Linked DNA regions of Homo sapiens: region 1 is linked to region 2. The links are contacts of gene promoters, found by promoter capture Hi-C in human tissues and cell types (Jung and others, 2019). All regions are on one chromosome and are shown on one strand. The core of a region is centred on a gene start or on the middle of the fragment in contact, and the rest is flanking DNA. Distances in the headings are between cores, read along the strand shown. Region 1 overlaps CMTM8 (CKLF like MARVEL transmembrane domain containing 8). Region 2 holds the start of CNOT10 (CCR4-NOT transcription complex subunit 10).

What was found. Contacts are between HindIII fragments. The study calls those that stand out against the background at their distance.
Region 1: a contact is called between a fragment that was not itself captured here and the fragment with the promoter of CNOT10 in region 2, in 1 of the 25 tissues and cell types used here (liver).

Annotation. Positions count from the first base shown.
Region 1 is chr3:32,303,314-32,310,502 of GRCh38, forward strand. All of the region lies in intron 1 of CMTM8 (CKLF like MARVEL transmembrane domain containing 8), which reads left to right. Among named protein-coding and RNA genes, the nearest start is that of CMTM8, 68 kb to the left of the region's middle. The HindIII fragment of the contact is 3,122 bases long and covers 1-3,044 here.
Region 2 is chr3:32,681,491-32,688,096 of GRCh38, forward strand. CNOT10 (CCR4-NOT transcription complex subunit 10) reads left to right here and starts at 3,698. Exons shown (of 19, transcript NM_015442.3): 1 at 3,698-3,992. The coding sequence starts at 3,971. RefSeq lists a silencer at 3,499-3,808. The HindIII fragment of the contact is 8,061 bases long and covers 1-6,523 here.

The sequences.
Region 1 (7,189 bases), core at 234-2,733, 380 kb before region 2:
CTGCATAAATCTTCAAGGCCATTATCATATCAGTGAGATATTTCTAGTATTTTTGAGAACTCTGATGCATCAAAATGTCTGAGTTCAGCTCGTTCTTAATGTGGTGACAGGGTCAAATGTGTTGGTTTAGATTCAGGTGTTTCGTTTTTGTTTTTATCTTATGCCTCCAAACACTTAAAAGTAAATTGGGTCGCTTATCTTCAAATTTGAGGCAGGAAATACTGTTTGGTTCTCATACTTTCTTCCCGTATGTTTCATTTCTGAAACATTCTGGCTTGTTTACACATTGATGGTAACCGAGCTTCCCCCCTCCCCCTCCCAACTGTAATTTTGAAAAATTTCAAATCTGCAGGAAAGTAGAACAATATAGACTCCTTCGCTTAAATTTTGTAGACTCCTCACTTACATTTGCCAGCTCACATTTTTTTACATCTGGTTTCTCTCGCTGTGTGAATGTGTGTGATCTTATTTTTGTTGTGGTTGTTGTTAAACCACTGGGAAGTTGCAGGCCTGACATTTATTCCCTAGGTATTTCAGTATGTATTTACCAAAAATCATTAAATAACTATTAAATTATTTAAATTAATTGTAATACCTTCATCACACTCAAGGAATTTAGCATCAATTCACTAATATGTGATGCAGTCCATATTCAAATTTTCTACTTTGTCCCAAGAATGTCCTTTACTTCAGCCTTTTGTTTGAGGATCCAGTCAAGGATCGACAGATTTCTTTTAGTTGCCATGTTTCTTTAGTCACCTTTAATCTAGAAAAATCCTCAGCCTGTTAGACCATTTGGGTAAGAATACAGCCCAGGTGGTGCTGGCATGTATCTGGTTGTGATCGCATGATAATTGGTTGTACCAAAATCAGTGTTGCTAAGTTTGGTCACTTAGTTACAGTAGCATCTGCCAGGTCTTATAAAAGGGACCCTATTCTCATGTAAAAGTTTGGGTGTTGGCAGGGGGCTGAAAATGGGTGTCCTATTCTGAGACAAGGAGAATGAATTTTCCCCCAACAGCCTTGGCCTCTCTGATTGTAACATCCACTGATGTTCTTCTCAGCTGTACTTTGATTTGTTGTTGGAGATGGCATGGGGGAAAGGAAAAGTATAAAGGAAATGTATTCCAGCAGATCTTTGTAGAATCAATTCCATTGCTCCTTTATTTGTATAGTTACAAGAAATGAATGATGTGAGTGCTCTGTATTTTCTAGATTGTCATACTCAATCTATATGAACAAAAGAAGCTTAGTTTACTTCTGTCTCTCCATAGAGAAACCTCCAAGGCAAATATTTGTCTGGAGTTAGTAGCCTGCAATGATTACCGAAGGTCCAGATGAGGTTATTAAAATGCCTGGTGTTTGCCCTGGTGGCACACACAAGATAAATGAGGCAGAATTCTTTCAGCTTGGTTACATGTTGGTTTTTCATGTTCCAGTTAATAGTACAGAGTAGGAACATCTGCTTTAGCAGGTCCAGCTAGATAAACAGCTTCTGCAGTATAACAGAAATCAGCAGCCTATGCCATTGACTTAAGGAGACAGATTTAAACTTTGTAAATAAAAGGTTTGACTAAAGCTTATGAGGAGGAATATTTCTGCATAGATGAGAAAGCTCAAGTGAATTTTGTATTTAATCTTTCCCCATAGGGTAGTGAACTAAAACATTAGTTTTGGGCTAGTGGCTGAGAACCATCTCTTTAAGACAGAAATATTTTGGCAATCTAAATCTCCCTTGGGCGGCATTAGGTAGAGAGTGATGTAATTCCTAATCTCAAACATTTTTGTTTCAAACATATTAAATGTTTCTACAAAGCCATCTTCGAGTTGTGGCTTTATGGACTCAAGCGGCTAAGGCAGTGGTTCTCAGTCAGGGTGCAGTTTTTTTCCCTAGGGAACATTTGGTAATGACTGGAGGCTTTTTTTTTTTTTTTTCAGACGGAGTCTCGCTCTGTCACCCAGGCTGGAGTGCAGTGGCGTGATCTCTGCTCACTGCAAGCTCAGCCTCCCGGGTTCACGCCATTCTCCTGCGACTGGAGACATTTTTGATTGTCACAACTAGGAGGGTGGTATTGGCATCAGGTACAAAATGTCACTGATGGCAAGGTTGGAAAAACTGCTTTACAGGATAGAAAGTTATTTTACTGACAAATATGTGCAGTGTATGAGATACTGGGTGTTCCAAGAAAATGAAGTCCTGGACCCTGCCTTCAAAGCTGGTTATATCACAGCTGTTGACAATCACAAAACTATGGTAAATACACTTTCTTATTCATCTACGAGCCTTAATGATCTGAGAGGAGATGGCACAGCAGGCTATAAGTAGGAGCCCCATTTGGGCTGGGACTTACCAGATGAGTAGGCATTAGTAAGTGTGGAGGGTTGAGAAATCCCACTCTTCAGTTCATACAGCATCATCATTGTTCCATGGAGGCCTCTTATTGTTTCCTCATTTGTGCCTCCTTTCCTCCATGCCACTGGCAACCATATTCGTGGGTTAAATATAACAGAAATCTTTAATTTTGCATGTTTTTAAAAAATAAAATGTGTATTGACTGTAGATAACTTATGTAGATGGAATTGTGTTAAGATATCTCATTCAGTTCTTTTCCAGTTAACCCTATGCTATTAAAATCAATTCATGTTGCTATGGATCCATCTATTCTGTTGCTTTGAATTGCTTTCCTGGTACTCCTTGGAGTGTGTAGCAGTTAGTATGCTTTGTGATGAACCATCCCAAACTTAGTGACTTAAAACAATGGTCACTCCTTTTTCGTGAGTCTGTGGGGTTGGTTGAGTGGTTTGGCTGATTTGTGTCTGGGTCTGCTGATCTCAGCTGGTGTCACTCATTCATCTGTGATCTGCTGGAGACTGCATGATTTAAGAGGTCCATGGCACATTGTTGTCATCCTTCATCAGTTTGGCCTAAACTTGGTCACCTGATGGCAAGGCCAGGAATCCAAGGGAGGAGAATTGTGCAAGGCCTATACTTGGAACTTGACCACAGTCATTTCTGCCATATTCTGTTGGCTAAACCAAGGCACGAGTCCAATCCACAAATCCAGTCTGGATTCAAAGTGTGGGGAAATAGACTCCACCACTTGATGGGAGGAACTGAAAAGCGACATTGCAAAGGGATGGTTATAGGGAGTTTAATTAGAGCCATTGATTAGTCAGAGTATGCATCCACCACCTTTTGCCTATTCACTCTTCCAGTGATGGAAGCCAAAGTTGATTCCAACTCTGGAAGCTGTGATAAATATCTTTGTACATGTCACCTTGTGGAGCTGTTTGATAATTTGGAAGCTATATTCTCAGGAGTAAGATTGCTGAGGCAAATGGTTACATCTACCTGGAATGTCTATAGGAACAGCAGAAGATGAGACTGGATACTTCCTTGTTGAGAAGTTGGGATTTGGTGCTAAGGTTTAGTGGGCAACCTTGAGTTTTAGGTAAGGTTAATGCATTTAGACTCATGTTTTAGAGGGATTATCTTGGCAATAGTGTGAGGGTTGGAAGAGACGGGTACTACATTAGGTCCTTGGGTGCCTCATTGGAAGCTGACTTAGGCCAGCTGAGAATCTGAATTAAGGTCATAAAAATGGAGAGAAGATGCCAGGCACAGTGTCTCACGCCTGTAATCCCAACACTTTGGGAGGCCGAGGTAGGTGGATCACGAGGACAGGAGTTTGAGACCAGCCTGGCCAACATGGTGAAATCCCGTCTCTACTAAAAATACAAAAATTAGCTGGGCATGGTTGTGGATGCCTGTAATCCCAGCACTTTGGGAGGCCGAGGTAGGTGGATCATGAGGACAGGAGTTTGAGACCAGCCTGGCCAACATGGTGAAATCCCGTCTCTACTAAAAATACAAAAATTAGCTGGGCATGGTTGTGGATGCCTGTAATCCCAGCTACTCGGGAGGCTGAGGCAAGAGAATCACTTGAAACCGGAAGGTAGAGGTTTTCAGTGAGCTGAGATCGCACCACTGCACTCCAGCCTGACCGACAAGAGCGAAACTCCATCTTAAAAAAAAAGAGAAGGTAGAATCAACCTGACCTGGTGGCTGACTGGATGAGGGAAAAGCAGGAGTCTAGGATGACTTCCTGGTTTCTGTCTTGGGTAGGTGGGGAGATGGTGTTGGCATGAGTTGCTGGGAATGAGGGAGAAAGAACAGATCCTCGGGGAGATGATAAGTAAGTCCTTTTTGGGCAGCATTCAGTATAGGAGACTGTGGAGTGGCAAGGCAGAGATGGCCAGAGAGCATACTTGCATGTGTAGGTATGTAGCTTGAAGAGAAGTCGAGGTTAAAGATGAAGATGTGGGAATTTCCAGTCAATGGGAGGAGGTGACTGCTAGGGGTGGGTTTGTCTAAGGCAATGGTTCTCAAACTTTAGCTGCATCAGAATCACCTGGAAGGTTGTTAAATCGGAGCTCCCCAGGCCCCACCCCCAGAGTTCCTGAGTCAGTAGATCTGGAGTGGAGCCATAGAATTTGCATTCTAACAAGCTTCCAGGTGACGTTGATGTTGCTGGTCTGGGACCACACTTTGAGAGCCAGTCTGGGGCAAAAGTACAAATGGAGAAGGCCCTGGCAGGCCATGTTCAAGGAGTGGGCAAAGGGAAATAAGTCAGCAAAGGCATTTAAGAGAGTTTAGGCTCTGAGAAGCCAAGAGAATACTGAGATACCCAGTTAAGACCATTCCTTTAAGCGGCTCAATTCAAAAGGAGAAGAGAGCAGAAAATAGAAGACACCACAGGGTGTTGAGGATTTTTCCTTACCATTTAATTGTTATCATAAGAGACTTAAGCATCCTTTCAGGATGAAAGAGTCACACCTCCTTCGCACTCTACCGACTCCATGTCTCTAATTTAGCACAGGGAGGCGGAGACATTCAGACTAAATGGTCCTGCTTTCCACAGCATCAGAAAACACAGAAGCAGATTCATGTCCACAGTGTGAGGGATGCTAGTGATATATTGTGAAGAAATAAAAAATCAAGCTACAGAAAAATATATTGAGTTGTCTTTATAGAGAAAAACAATTATGTGAAGTCCCCCTCCATATGTCTGCATGGTTATGCTTAAAAGAAAACAGATTTGCAGGAGAGCTCTTGAGCACACAGCTAAGCATTTCCAGCCCGCAGTTTCTTCTCCAGAACTTAGCTACTTGGATGGGACAGTGGAGAGTGCACTAGAGTTGGAAAGGGCACTGGCATGAGGAGATCGGGGCTCTATCATCGTTCATGAGTTCAGCATGACTTCACCTCTCTGTGTCTCAGTTTCTCCATCTGTAAAATGGGACTAATTATGGTACCTACCTCAGAATCATGATGAGGATTAAATAAGAATACATGGAAAGCCCTTAGAACACTGCAAGTTATGTATGAGGTACTCAAAATAGACATAATCTGCTCTTAATGTATTTTAATATGAGTTAATAGACACAATGACGCTTAGTGAACTTTAATATATATTATCCATTAGATCCTATGGTGCAACTGTCACATGAAAATAAGGTGGTAACATCTCTAGGAACCTAAGGTTCAAAACTCAGAATTTGGGGTCACAGCAGCCCTACCATTAGAGATGCTCCTTCCTATGCTGGAAAGTCATCGTGGCAGCTCTGTATCAACCATGACCAAAAGGGATTGGCCCCTGTCTTCAGACACCCATCGTCCTTGAGGTTATGGCACTATGAGGTTGGGAGAATCAGGAGGTTTGAAAGGTCATTGGATGTTTCTTAGTGAGAACTGGGTGTCCTGGGGAGTGCTGAGTCTGGGTCATATGTACGCATGTGTACCAAGTTGCTCATCTCCAGACAAGCATCCTTAACACACTCACTGCTGGTTCACAGAAATGGGTGGAGGGTGGTGGGGCAGAGCATTGCCTGGGCCTTTCTAGACTTGGTGCTGTGGGAAGACCAGCTGATTTGGGTTTAAACTTGGAAGGGCTCAAGCATGGCTGAGCTCTCAACCAATTTACCAATTTTTTTTTTTTTTTTTTTTTTTTCGAGACAGAGTCTTGCCCTGTCGCCCAGGCTGGAGTGCAGTGGTACAATCTCAGCTCACTGCAACCTCCACCTCCCGGGTTCAAGTGATTCTCATGTCTCAGCCTCCTGAGTAGCTGGGATTACAGGTGTGCACCACCACGCCCGGCTAATTTTTGTATTTTTAGTAGAGACAGTGTTTTGCCGTCTTGGCCAGGCTGGTCTCGATGTCCTGACCTCAGGTGATGCACCTGCCTCGGCTTCCCAAATGCTGTGATTGCAGGCATGAGCCACCATACCTGGCCAACCAATTTTTTTTCTTATGCCCCCGTGCTGGACTCTTGTGTCCATGTAGTGTTCCAGACTTATAGAACCTAGGTGTCTCACTTTTCCTCAAAGTCGGTCATGCTTTCAGTAACTTGGCTATTCTGATTGAGCCTGTGGTTCATCAGAAGTCCAGAACAGATGTTCATACCCTGTGTTAGCCCTGTCTGTGCTCTTGGGGTTTATGATTTCCTAAGTCACAGTAGGGGATGGGAGCTTTATGCAGGGAGGCCCTCTCGTACTGCGGGCATCCTGAACTTTCGATGGGAATGTCTGTTCACTGCCCCCAGGCATCAGATGACTGAGTTCAGTCACCCTCAACCTTGCCTGGTCAGCCCTGCTTTCTGCAGGACCATTTGAGGTTCTCACAGCCAGTCTTTATTTTCACAGCTCAGTTTTTAGAAAAGAGGAAGCAAATTAAGGACATCTCAAAATGAGACTAAGTGAACACAGGAGATCCATCCATTCTGATTTTTACTGTTCTCATGTGTAGAAAGGAGTAGTGGGGCTGTGGATGATTTTTAAAATTGTGGTTTTTTTTTTCTGTAAATCGAATTTATCAAGGCTAAAGTGTGGCTTTGAAATTAGGTACTCAACTGTAGGGACAAATTTGGGAGATGGCTCTCCAAAGGAATCCCATCAGATTCCAGCGTGGCAGAATTCTAGAGCAAAGGGATTTTGCTGGCACTGTCAGGCTTCAGCTTAAATTTACAGTTCAGCTGTGTTTTTGCTCCAAGAAAAAAATATACCTGAGCTGTAGATACACTGTCTGGAGATGCTTTAGAGATCTCCCATCCAGTAAATAACATCTTAATGGGAGGCCTTGTCCTTGCCAATGAGGGGTGCCAAAGGAAGAAATGAGTTCAAGTAAACTAGG
Region 2 (6,606 bases), core at 2,448-4,947:
CCTGTAATCCCAGCGCTTTGAGAGGCTGAGGCGGGTGGTTCACCTGATGTCAGGAGTTCGAGACCAGCCTGGCCAATGTGGTGAACTAAAAAAAGAAAAATTAGCCAAGCACGGTGGCTTGCGCCTGTAATCCCAGCTACTTGGGAGGCTGAGGCAGGAAGATTGCTTGAACCCGGGAGGTGGAGGTTGCAGTGAGCCAAGATCGCATCACTGCACTCTAGCCTGGTTGACAAGAGAGAAATTCCATCTCAAAATAAATAAATAAATAAATAAATAATAATAAAAATAAAAATAACAAAAATATAAAAAATTAGTCAGGTGTGGTGGCGTGCACCTGTAGTCCCAGCTACTTGGGAGGCTAAGGTGGGAGAATCACCTGAAACTGGGAGTTAGAGGCTGGAGTGAGCCATGATTATACCACTGCACTGCAGCCTGGGTAACAGAGTGAAACCTGTCTCAAAACACAGACACAAACAAACAAACCACATACAGTCTAAAGTACTGTGAATGGATAGTGGTATCATTATTAGCTGGAGGTAAAGTGACTCACCGTAGTTTATGACGGAGCAAAATCCTACTGAGCTTTTCCACCTCCCCACTCCTGAATTAGTTATCCATCATTGATGTCAGCCTGATTGTGAAAAAAGGGAGAGCTGCTGATACGGAAAGTAGAGGGAAGAGAGCCCAAATATCTTCAATATAATAGCAAATCCTAGAATCTAGAATGTAGTGGTTAAGATAATAGCCATTTACCAGTCTTGTGGCTTGGGAAAGTGGATTAACATCTGTGCCTCAGTTTCCCTATCTATGAAATGGGGGACAAGAACCAACATAGATGTGACCACATGTGAGAAAGTGAAAAGGGGACTAAGAAAATTAAAAAAAAAAAAACAGTTCTGTTAGTAGAATGTTCCCAACTGGACATAAACAGCACTCACAGAATATGAACAATGTTCATAGACAGTTTCACCATGATCGTGTTTTGGACAAGACAGAAACAAGGCCCTCAACAACCACACAAATGGGAAAACACCCCCTTCTTCTAATGTAAATGATCCCGCTTTTTTTTTAACCAATGACAGCTCTAGCTTGCTTTGTTCCTCCTTCTGTTTAGATAAAACCAAGACTGAATTGCTTGTTTCCTGACAGCATCCAATTCAAATTTGGCCTCCTACTTTCCCAATCCCTCTAGAATAAGCCCAAATTCTATAAGAGATTCCTCCTAATTCCTTTTCATTAAGAGGCTCCCTACTACACTTCAGGTGTGCCTTTTTATTATTTTTTATTCTTTATTTTATTTATTTATTTATTTATTTTTGAGATAGACTTTTGCTCTTGTTGGCCAGGCTGCAGTGCAATGGCACGACCTCGGCTCACTGCAACCTCTGCCTCCCGGGTTCAAACAATTCTCCTGCCTCAGCCTGCCAAGTAGCTGGGATTACAGGCACCCGCCACAACGCCCGGCTAATTTTTGTATTTTTTTTTAGTAGAGACGGGGTTTCACCATGTTGGCCAGGCTGATCTCAAACTCCTGATCTCAGGTAATCTGCCTGCCTCGGCCTCCCAAAGTGCTGGGATTACAGGCATTAGCCACCGTGCCCGGCCAGGTATGCCTTTGCCCAGCCAGGTATGCCTTTTTATGGTGGGCACATATTCATCAAAAGTCATACTAGAGTAATCATATTGGCCCTATTCAAAATAGATAAAATATCCAAATGCCCAACAATAAAATGAATACATAAATTAAGGAATATTCACATAATGTAACATTATAATATATAACAATGAGAAACAAATACAACTTCATTCAACAATGTCAATGAATCTCATACTATCGAGCAAAAGAAGCTAGACCCTAAAAAATATATTGTATAATGTATATACATTAAGTTTAAAAGCAGGTGAAGCTAATCCATAGTGTTAAATGTCAGCATAATGATTATCTTTGTGGAGAGATGGGAAGAGGCATGAGGGGAACTCCCAGATATGGGTAAAGCTCTGCCCTTTCTCTGGGTGCTAGTTATATGTATGTGTTGAGTTGATGAAAAGTCAATACACTGTACTTATGATTCATGCACTTTTCTTTGTGTATGTTAGCCTGAATTAAAAAGTTTAAGAAAAAACAAATACTTTTTTTTTTTTTTGAGACAGAGTCTCACTCTGTTGCCCAGGCTGGAGTGCAGTGGGGCAATCTTGGCTCACTGCAATCTCCGCCTCCCGGATTCAAGGGATTCTCCTGCCTGAGCCTCCCAAGTAGCTGGGATTACAGGTGCACACCACCACGCCCAGCTAATTTTTGTATTTTTAGTAGAGACGGGGTTTCACCATGTTGGCCAGGCTGGTCACAAACTCCTGACCTCAAGTGATCCACTTGCCTTGGCCTCCCAAAGTGCTGGGATTGCAGGTGTGAGCCACCACGCCCGGCCAAAAACAAATACTTTTTTAAAAGAAAGTTTAAAACAAAAGTTAAAAAAAAAGAAAAAAACAGGTACAAACCTGAAAAATCTCCCAATTAACAAAGCTGGGACAATTTTAGCAACAAAATAATGTAGTATTGGAATGTAACCATTATAAGATAAACATCCATGAGTCCATACTGATATAAATAGCTAAGTGAGGGAGAAGAGGCAAACTTCCCTTGGGGAAGATAATTTATGTACATACTCCCCACTGCAGGAGGTAGAGCTTAAATACCCCGCCTTCCCACCTTGAGTGTGGGTTGCATTTATTGACTTGGTTCCAAAGTAGTGTGGAAGGGTAGGAGGAGTAATTGCACAGTAGAGAAAACTGGCAAGCACTACCTTAGAGAGGTAATCAAGGTTAACATGATCAGTGATGTCATTTTGACAGCATGTACCCTTGATTCTATGTGATGAGAACAGCCAGTCACCTTGTGGTCTTCCTCCTAAACACCCAAAACCCCAGTCTAACCATGAGAAAAATATTGGCCAAACCCAAATTGAGGCACATTCCACCAAATATCTGAGGAGTAACTCTTCAAAACTGTCAAGGTCATCAAAAACAAGAAGAATCTGAGAAACTGCCACAGCCAAAAATAGCCTAAGACGACATAATGAATAAATGCAATATGGTGTCCTGGACAGGATCCTGGAACAACAACAAAAAAAGGACATTGAAAGAAAGCTGGTAAATGTGAATAAAATGTGTAGTTTAGTGAGTAATAGTGCGCCAATCAAACTGGTTTCTTAGATGTGATCAACGTAACATAGTAAAATAATTAAGATGTTCACAATAGGAGAAACTAGGTGAGGAGACAGGAACTCTAGGTGTCATCTTTGCAACTTTTCTGCACAACTACAACTATTCTAAAATAAAAGGCGTTTCTTTTTAAACGGGAATCCTCAACAGCGCCTCTCTCATGGGGTTGCAAGAAATCAATGAGATAGTACAGACCAAGTGCAGGGCTCAGTGCTTAGCACATAAATGTCAGATGTGGTTATTGTAATATTATGTAACATTGAGGGACAAAAGCTCTGACACCTCGGTGTTTTAATTAGAGTAAGCAAAGGACAGACGCGCGTACGTCCCACCGCGTCAGCCCTGTGAACATCCAGAGGTTCCAGCCAGAGTACGTCCGGCCGGAGGCGGGGCGCGGAGGGGACGTCGGCGTGGGGCGGGGCCAGTAGCAGTTCCCACGCCGGCGCTCCAGGCGCGGCAGGCTGCCGCCCCCGGAAGTAGTGGGTACCGGGACGCCGTGAGGCGGAAGCTGTGTATGGCGGGAGGCTGTGGCGGTCCCTTGGTGGGGAAGCTGTTGCTGTTGCTAGACGACGGGAACTAGCTCTCGTCACTTCCTCAGCCCGCCGTCTGCCCACTCCTCTAGCCGGAACCTGGGGGCCCGGAGCCGGGGTAGGCACAGAGTTGTCCTCGGAGGTCCAGGACAGCGGCCAGCCCGGCGGCGGGAGTCAGGGCCACGCCACCTGCAGGGAAGAACCCGAGTCGAAGCGGGAAGATGGCTGCAGACAAGCCTGCAGGTAGGGCGCCAATGTCCCGAGCGACGAGACGGCGGGACGTGCGGGGCCGGGCGGACCCTGAACTCGGAGGCGGCGGGGCCCGGGGTGGGGACTCCAGGGCGACTTGAATTTGGGCGTGCATTTCTTTACCCCATCCTCTGTCTCGGCTGTCGCTAACATGAGTCTTCGGGCCCCGGGTCCAATAGTTGTTTTACTCAAGTGCAGTATTTGAAGTCGCCACTGGCCGCCTTTGCCCTGCTCTTCAGAATAACTCCGGCCCAAAAAGCTTAAATGTATTTTGCCGCTTCGCAGAATTTTCCGCTTCTTCGTGGGAAAAGCAGACAAGAGAAAGTCACCCTGGAGCACACATCTGCCTATAATATCGCGTGGCTGAGGCTGGGATTCACCTGGGCTGTTTTGACCACATGTGGCTTCCTCTGGTCATTGACTCCTGTGAAATTAACTTTGTAAAAACCACTTTTTTTTTTCTTGATAGAGACGGGCGGGGGTCTCGCTATGGTGCCCAGGCTGATCTCGAACTTCTGGGCCCAAGCGATCCTTCCGCCTTGGCCTCTCAAAGTAAACCACTTATTTAAAAAGGCATAAAATCCTATTGTCTCTCTACAGTCTGTGCTCCTAAAATCTTGCATTTGGTACTTAATTGCTCTAGTTCCTCGAAATTACTTAATCTCAATGGTTTTCTTTATGGATTATTGCTCCCATTCCTAGAATCTTCCACATTAAGGAATATAAAATTATTTCCTGACCTTGTCCGGAATGTTTCCCGCAAGAAATTCATATTCTTTGTGGCATCCAGGTTTTATTGGAAAGAACTTAAGTGACAGGATTTAAAAGTGATGGAACTTAAAATTTTTACAGTGAATTTAATTTAAAATTAAAGAAAAACTCAGTGTGCTGTGGATTTTAGTAGGTTCTGGTCACAATAACTGACAAATGAACTTCACTTGGAAATTAAGCCAATTCTATTTTAGGTACAGAGGAATAAAAATCATTAGAGGATCTCTTCAATAATCTAAGAAGAAAAACAACAGAACAAAGGCCTTGAGAGGGTATAAGGAATGTGCTGTGAAATTTTGGATAGGTTGTTCAGGGAAGGCCTCTGGTGAGATGATATTTGAGCAGAGATATGTAAGAAGTGAGGGAATGAGCCATAAGAAATGAGGAAAGGTGGATGAGGGAGAGACTATTAGACAGGAAAACGGCATGGCCTGTCCAAGGCTGGACCAGGGGACCAACATCTTCCTCCTTATTTTAGAATAGTGTCTGTGTTCCCCACATTTACCATTCCTACTTGCTCATACCATTGCGCTTGCCCGAAATCACCCTTTTAGACCTAAAGCCCATCCAGTTTTCAAATCCTCAGTCATAAAGCCTTCTACTTGTTCATTTATTCATTCGCAAAGATTGAGTGTTGAATAATGGATATGACACACTCCCTGCCTTTGAAGACCTGCTGTTCAGTCTGTTGGAGGAGACAGGCATATCCTAGCTGCACTCCTGTTTGGTAAGAGCTGTGTAATGTGTGTAGTTGAAGAATAAGGTCCACAGTGATTAGGGGACTGTTTTTTTCATTGGTTTAAGTTTATAGGCCATATTGAAGGAAACTTCCTGCTTTGATATAAGGTTAAATTTGAATAAAATAGATGAGTGTTTAGTGTAGCTCCTTTGAATCTCTGCTCATCTCCATCTCATCTGCTGTGTTTCTGGCCTTTATCTTTTAATATGATCTATGTCGCATTGAGTAGTCTTCTCACTGGTGTTTGTCTCTTGTCTCTTCCTATCCCATCCATTTTCCTCACTGTCGCCCCCCGCTTTTTTTATGTCCTAAGACATTCATTGAATCCTGTCATTCCCCTTCCTATAAAGTTTCTAAGACTGTACATGCTTTGGGCATCAAGTCATCATTCTTTTTATTTAATTTTTATTGTATTTTCTTTCTCCTTTTAAGTCCTCACGGTTTTTTTTTTTTGTTTTTTTTTTTTTTTTTGAGACGGAGTCTCGCTCTGTCACCCAGGCTGGAGTGCAGTGGTGCGATATCGGCTCATTGCAAGCTCCGCCTCCCGGGTTCACGCCATTCTCCTGCCTCAGCCACCCGAGTAGCTGGGACTACAGGCGCCCGCCACCACGCCCTGCTAATTTTTTTGTATTTTTTAGTAGAGACAGGGTTTCACCATGTTAGCCAGGATGGTCTCCATTTCCTGACCTTGTGATCCGCCTGCCTCGCCCTCCCAAAGTGCTGGGATTACAGGCGTGAGCCACCGCGCCCTGCCGTCCTCACTCTAATGTGGTTTGTGAGCATCTTCAAAATCTATTTCCAGCTGGATTTCTGTATCAACCCACCCAGCTCTTCACATCATAAATTACTGTTGCAAAGCATTGTGTTTTTTGAGCTTTTGAGCCGTAGTGTCCTTTCTCTTCTCCGTCTGGTGAACACTATTCATTCAGTCTATCTTACATGCTGCTTCCTCTCTGAGCTCACGAGGTCAGGATATTTGTCACGGAGGGTCTTGTGTGTGTGTTCTTCATCAGGTAAGAAAAAAGGGTCATGAAAGGACTTAAGGTGAGTGATCTGATCACACTGACTGTTGTAGGTGGTGGATTTAAATGAAGTAAG